Linked DNA regions of Homo sapiens: region 1 is linked to region 2. Evidence: promoter capture Hi-C in human tissues and cell types (Jung and others, 2019). All regions are on one chromosome and are shown on one strand. Each heading gives the region's core, a stretch centred on a gene start or on the middle of the fragment in contact. The rest is flanking DNA. Distances are from core to core; before and after follow the strand shown.

Evidence for each region. Contacts are between HindIII fragments. The study calls those that stand out against the background at their distance.
Region 1: a fragment that was not itself captured here is called in contact with the fragment with the promoter of SLC6A3 in region 2 in 1 of the 25 tissues and cell types used here (stomach).

The regions. Positions count from the first base shown.
Region 1 is chr5:1,391,098-1,394,416 of GRCh38, reverse strand. It overlaps SLC6A3 (solute carrier family 6 member 3), which reads left to right. Exons shown (of 15, transcript NM_001044.5): 15 at 1-1,623. Among named protein-coding and RNA genes, the nearest start is that of LINC01511, 13 kb to the right of the region's middle. The HindIII fragment of the contact is 8,724 bases long and covers 1-3,319 here.
Region 2 is chr5:1,444,079-1,447,315 of GRCh38, reverse strand. It overlaps SLC6A3 (solute carrier family 6 member 3), which reads left to right and starts at 1,876. Exons shown (of 15, transcript NM_001044.5): 1 at 1,876-1,968. RefSeq lists an enhancer at 739-1,238. The HindIII fragment of the contact is 20,714 bases long and covers 1-3,237 here.

The DNA.
Region 1 (3,319 bases), core at 1-2,500, 52 kb after region 2:
CCTGCTCCCGGCTCTGAGGCTGCCCCAGGGGCACTGTGTTCTCAGGCGGGGATCACGATCCTTGTAGACGCACCTGCTGAGAATCCCCGTGCTCACAGTAGCTTCCTAGACCATTTACTTTGCCCATATTAAAAAGCCAAGTGTCCTGCTTGGTTTAGCTGTGCAGAAGGTGAAATGGAGGAAACCACAAATTCATGCAAAGTCCTTTCCCGATGCGTGGCTCCCAGCAGAGGCCGTAAATTGAGCGTTCAGTTGACACATTGCACACACAGTCTGTTCAGAGGCATTGGAGGATGGGGGTCCTGGTATGTCTCACCAGGAAATTCTGTTTATGTTCTTGCAGCAGAGAGAAATAAAACTCCTTGAAACCAGCTCAGGCTACTGCCACTCAGGCAGCCTGTGGGTCCTTGCGGTGTAGGGAACGGCCTGAGAGGAGCGTGTCCTATCCCCGGACGCATGCAGGGCCCCCACAGGAGCGTGTCCTATCCCCGGACGCATGCAGGGCCCCCACAGGAGCATGTCCTATCCCTGGACGCATGCAGGGCCCCCACAGGAGCGTGTACTACCCCAGAACGCATGCAGGGCCCCCACAGGAGCGTGTACTACCCCAGGACGCATGCAGGGCCCCCACTGGAGCGTGTACTACCCCAGGACGCATGCAGGGCCCCCACAGGAGCGTGTCCTATCCCCGGACCGGACGCATGCAGGGCCCCCACAGGAGCGTGTACTACCCCAGGACGCATGCAGGGCCCCCACAGGAGCGTGTACTACCCCAGGATGCATGCAGGGCCCCCACAGGAGCGTGTACTACCCCAGGACGCATGCAGGGCCCCCATGCAGGCAGCCTGCAGACCACACTCTGCCTGGCCTTGAGCCGTGACCTCCAGGAAGGGACCCCACTGGAATTTTATTTCTCTCAGGTGCGTGCCACATCAATAACAACAGTTTTTATGTTTGCGAATGGCTTTTTAAAATCATATTTACCTGTGAATCAAAACAAATTCAAGAATGCAGTATCCGCGAGCCTGCTTGCTGATATTGCAGTTTTTGTTTACAAGAATAATTAGCAATACTGAGTGAAGGATGTTGGCCAAAAGCTGCTTTCCATGGCACACTGCCCTCTGCCACTGACAGGAAAGTGGATGCCATAGTTTGAATTCATGCCTCAAGTCGGTGGGCCTGCCTACGTGCTGCCCGAGGGCAGGGGCCGTGCAGGGCCAGTCATGGCTGTCCCCTGCAAGTGGACGTGGGCTCCAGGGACTGGAGTGTAATGCTCGGTGGGAGCCGTCAGCCTGTGAACTGCCAGGCAGCTGCAGTTAGCACAGAGGATGGCTTCCCCATTGCCTTCTGGGGAGGGACACAGAGGACGGCTTCCCCATCGCCTTCTGGCCGCTGCAGTCAGCACAGAGAGCGGCTTCCCCATTGCCTTCTGGGGAGGGACACAGAGGACAGCTTCCCCATCGCCTTCTGGCTGCTGCAGTCAGCACAGAGAGCGGCTTCCCCATCGCCTTCTGGGGAGGGGCTCCGTGTAGCAACCCAGGTGTTGTCCGTGTCTGTTGACCAATCTCTATTCAGCATCGTGTGGGTCCCTAAGCACAATAAAAGACATCCACAATGGAAAAACTGCCTCAGCCTCCTTGTCTCGTTTCCGCTGGGCCCCATCCATTTACACAGGCCCAGCTCACCTGCTCACACCCCGAGGTCAGCTTCTGCCCCACCCCAGCCCACCCACAGCAAAGCTTCCTCACCTGATGCCTCTTGGCCCATCTCTCCTTCCGGCCTCCCCTAAAGCCTAGACGTTAGAGATAACACATCCACTACGCTCCCATGCAGGTGTGCTGGGTGTGACCTGTCGCCCTCCCCAGGCTCCCACGCAGGTGTGCTGGGTGTGACCTGTCCCCCCTCCCCAGGCTCCCACGCAGGTGTGCTGGGTGTGACCTGTCCCCCTCCCCAGGCTCCCACGCAGGTGTGCTGGGTGTGATCTGTTTCCCCTTCCCTGGGCTCCCACACAGTGTTGGGTGCAGTGGTGACCCTCACCCACGTCTGCACTCCTGCAGGGTCCCCTGTGGCAGGTTGTGGCACCTTATGTCGTGCCCACTTGCTCAGGCTGGACCTCCGTGCCATCCTGCACCGCTCTCCCCCAGCCCCTCACCTGCCTTTCAGCATTCTTGTGGGCTCCCCACATGTCCAGACTCCAACCACACTGCCTGACCACTGCCACTGCCCAACCCAAGAGCCTCTTCCAAGCCCCATCCCAGATCTTGGTGGGTCCTGGTCCTCAGTCCAAGCATCTTTCGTCGCTCTGTGGCCTAAAGGATTCTTCTAGATACCAACAGATCAGGCCACAGCCCAAGGAAACCCCAGGGTTATCCTGGTGCTTGGAGTAAATGCCAATGCCCTCAGCATGACCTGTGATAGGATGGCAGCACCCCTTCCAGGCAGTGACCTGTGATAAGACAAGCGTCACTCCCGCCAGCCCCACCTGCAGCCCTGCCCCGAACTGCCTGAGGGCACACCCCACACCGAGGGCTTTGTGCCTGGCAGCACATGGGGACACTGCTACTGCTGCATCGTAGCACGTGGCTGCGTGTGGACAGGAAGGACGCTCGCACCTTTCAGCTGGGTCAGTGAACTCTGTGGCAGGAAAAGTGCTGGGCTGCCTACAAGGGCTGAACCTGCCTGCAGCCTAACTAGTGCCTCCCACCGTCCCCATCGTCACATAGGATGTCCCTTACCCTCAGGGGTGGCTACACCCCGCCTGCTACAGGTGCCGCCCTAACAGCTCACACCTGGAGCCCCCAGGTGTGATCCCTGCTGACCACTCAGGTCTGGGGTCCAGGCAGATACTGTGTGGGTGGCCATAAGTCACTATGTGGGCTGAGACTTGAAGGACTCCGACAGCCTCATGGGCGACTGTATTAAGCCCCAGCAATCGGAGAGGTGGGCTCCGGGGCTGGGTGGGTCTCCTCTGCCAGGTGGGTCTCCTCTGCCTGTGGTCCCAGCAGCTCGGCAGCAGGGGCCGGCCCAGATGGCCGTTGGTCACAGAGACAGCTGGGCTTTGCTGAGTGCGTCGTGGTCCAGCCTAGGCCCATGCCACTGAAGCCTTTCTCAGAGGTGTGGGGTCTGCAGGGACCGGTCACATGTGAGCCCAGGATCAGGGCATTGGGGGAAGAACCAGCTGAGGACATTCCCCAGCCCCAAAACAAAGGCACGGCAGTCCTCGAGCAGGGAGGAGTGAGGAGCCACATGTGGGATCCCGCCTCTCTGGCGTGTGAGCTGTGGATGGCATCTGGTACCAGCCCCATGCCCGCTGGCCGCT
Region 2 (3,237 bases), core at 627-3,126:
AGATCCTCCTTCCTCGGCCTCCCAGAGTGCTGGGATTACAAGCGTGAGCCCTCACTCCTGGCCTGTGTATTTTTAATATACCTGAACATCCATTCTCTCTGTGTGTTTTATTTAACAGCCTCCCTTAGTCACCTGCAAAGTCTTTTCCTTGGGAGACTGTTTCCTCAACCCTGCTGCTCTGGGGCCAAGCCCTGGCTCACTCCTTTTTATTGAAACCTGTGCCATGGAGATAATAGGGGTAGAGAGATCCCTTCTGTGGCAGCCACTGACACACTACAGCTTCGAGGTGGCACATCCCCCTCTCCTGAAGTCCCCTCACCTCCCTGGCGATGAAGTCCCACCCCTGATGGGAGGTGGTGTCAGGAGGCCTTCAGGTGGTCAGGCCAGGAGGGCTCCACCCTGAGGAATGGGACCAGTGCCCTCATAAAACAGACCCCGGAGAGCTCTCCCCAGCCCCTAGCGTGGGGAGATACAGGGAGAGAACTGTCTGCAACCCCGAAGCGGCCCTCACCAGACACAGAGTCGGCCAGGCCTTGGCCTCGGGACACCGGAACCGTTAGAACTGAAGGCTTCTGTGTGAGCCCCCAGGCTGTGGAGTTTTTTGTCATGGCAGCCCCAGGGGGTCACTAGGCTCCCACTTGATTCCAACTCAGCGTGAAGTCACAGCCCTGAGTGCCTTCTGCCTGGGTGCCAGCCCCGGAGCCGGGGAGCGGGGGAGCGGGGGGCGGGGAGGGGAGTGGTGGTGTGCGGGGAGTGCGGGGCGGGCGCAGGGGGTGGGGCACCGCGCTGCGGGCGGGTACTGCGGAGTCAGGCACCAAGGGTCCCTGCCTCCCTCACTGCTGAGCGCGGGCTGCAGGCTGGAATGGCTGGAGAGCCCCAGGGCTCGCCTGGACGCCCAGGGCAGGGTGCTCACGGGAGCATCGAGGGTACACGGGGAGGAACGCCGGGGTTCGGGCGACCCTAGGGGCGACGCACAGAGCTGGGCGCGGCCACTCACCTCGGTGCCTTCTAAGGACCTGGACATCCTGGGCCTTGGCGGCCTGGGGGCTCCATTCCTCCGCGCGCTGAATGGAAGAAATCCCGCCCGGGCATCTCGGAAGGAAAGCCTCGGAGTCCATTCGGCCCTGGAGCCGGATACCAACCGCCAGGGCTTTCCAGGCCCGTCCCGGGAAATGGTTTTCTTAGGCGAGTGCGAGGCGGGCCCCTCGGTTCCGATGCAGGCGCACTAGATGCCGGCAAGGCGGGGACTAGGCCTAGGGGACCTCGGTCGCCTCGAGGTCGCGGAGACCCCAAGGCCACGGAAGGACCCGCGTCTCCGCAGCCCGCACGCCGGGAAGCGTGCAGAGTCCTCGGCGGGGTCCCGAGCCCGCTGGTCAGAGCGTGGAGCGGCGGGGTGGGAGGGACGTGGTCCCCAGAGCGCGGGGCCACCGTAGGGGCCCCTGATGGGGAGGGAGGGAAGGGTCGGCCCGACGGGGTCCCAGCAGTTCCCCGCGCGCAGCCGCTCGGCTCCCTCCCCGTCCAGCTGGGAGCCGCCAGCCCTGGGCGTCCGAAGATAGCGGGTGCCCGGGGCAGCCCCCAGGGGTGCGGGCGAGGGCGCAGGGCGGCCCAGACAGTTCCCGCGTGGAAGGCGCCCGTCTAGATCCGCGACGTCTCGGACCCCCAGGCCCCCGCACCCCGTGTCCGAGGCTCCGGGACGCGCAGGACAGTGGAGCCGTGGCCGCCGCTTGCTCCCAGCCATCTGCGTCCGGGAGGCGGGGGCGGGGGCGCGGCCCGGGGAGGTGAGGAGGAGGAGCCAGGACGCGAGGGCGACCCCGTCGGCGGGAGGGCGGGGCGGGGCGGACCCTGTCTACTGGATAAGAGCCCGAGGCCGAGGCTGAGACCGCCCAGCGCTGCGGAGCGGGAGGGGAGGCTTCGCGGAACGCTCTCGGCGCCAGGACTCGCGTGCAAAGCCCAGGCCCGGGCGGCCAGGTGAGGCCAGCGTCGCTCGCGGCATCGGGGCGCCCCGCTCCTTCCGCAGACCCCGAAGTGGGGCGCAGGGGCGGGGGCCGGGGACCGGGCACAGTCTGGGGTCCCCGCGTCCCGCAGACCGCGCCGTCTCCAAAGTCGCCAACAGTCGCGGGTGCCGAGCGCCCCCCGATAGCGCCACATGGGACCCTGAGGCCGTCCGAGGCGCGAGGAGGGTGCAGGGCTGCCCCTGGCCCCGCTCCAGGCTCAGAACCGGGTGGGCACCTGGTGCAGTCACCGGCTTAGGGGACGCGTGGGTGTCTATGGCTGTGACTCGGGGGTCCTGGTTTCTTCTCGTGGAACTTAACCCTACTAGGGGTGCGGCGCATCCCAGATCCGATCGGAGTGGGTTTTGTACACCGCCGCTCCATCTCGCGGGGGCTTTGTCTGTGTTGGGGGTGGTGGCGGGCGCGGGCTGCGCGCTGGTGCTCTGGGCAGGGCGGGGAGGCCGGGCGAGGACTCGCCAGGCAGCGCCGCTTCTTGTTCTGGGCGCGGTGAGGAAGGACGCTTTCTAACGGGCCACATTTTGCTGTGTAGACCCAAAACTCGCCTCTGAGGCCCCGCGTTCAGGAGCGGGGTCAGGTGGCCCCAGGGCGGCGGCGGCTTGCCGGAGACTCGCGAGCTCCGCACCCGACGCCCTCTCCCAACGCGGCCTCCTGCTCGCGCCGCGGAACCCCTTCGTCGGGTGTTTTACCCACCGGAGGGGTCGTGCCGGTTGAGGTTGTCACCGGGTGCGTGGCATAGCTCGTGATAGCTCATGGGTGAGGTTTTGTGCAAACTTGGATGCAGGGAAAGTTGCCTGTTAGAGCCTCCACCTGCGACCTGCTTCAGTCGTTGTGTGTGTGTGCGCACCTGTGTGAGTGTGAGTGTGTATGTGTGTAAGTGTATGTGCTCGCCTGTGTGTGTGTGAGTGTGTATGTGTGTTTGTGAGTCTGTGTGTGTCTGTGTGTCTGTGTGTGCGTGCGCTCGACTGAAACACGCTGCTGCTGGATCCAAATGACAGAAGTCGCCCTGGCTGGGGCGGTGTAGACGCTCCTGCTCTCCTGCTCAGCGTTGCAGGGGGGTTTATGTAGCCGTTTGGACAGGATTTCCCGGGTTACCCTGCTGGCCCAGGAGCTAGTTCCCGCGATGAAGCCCTGTCCATCCTCCGCCCAGCTCTCTCACGCGGGGTGGTGCCACCTGCCCTAGGTGGATGTGGCTTGTACAGACACTTTTTGAGGAAGCAGTTGTGAT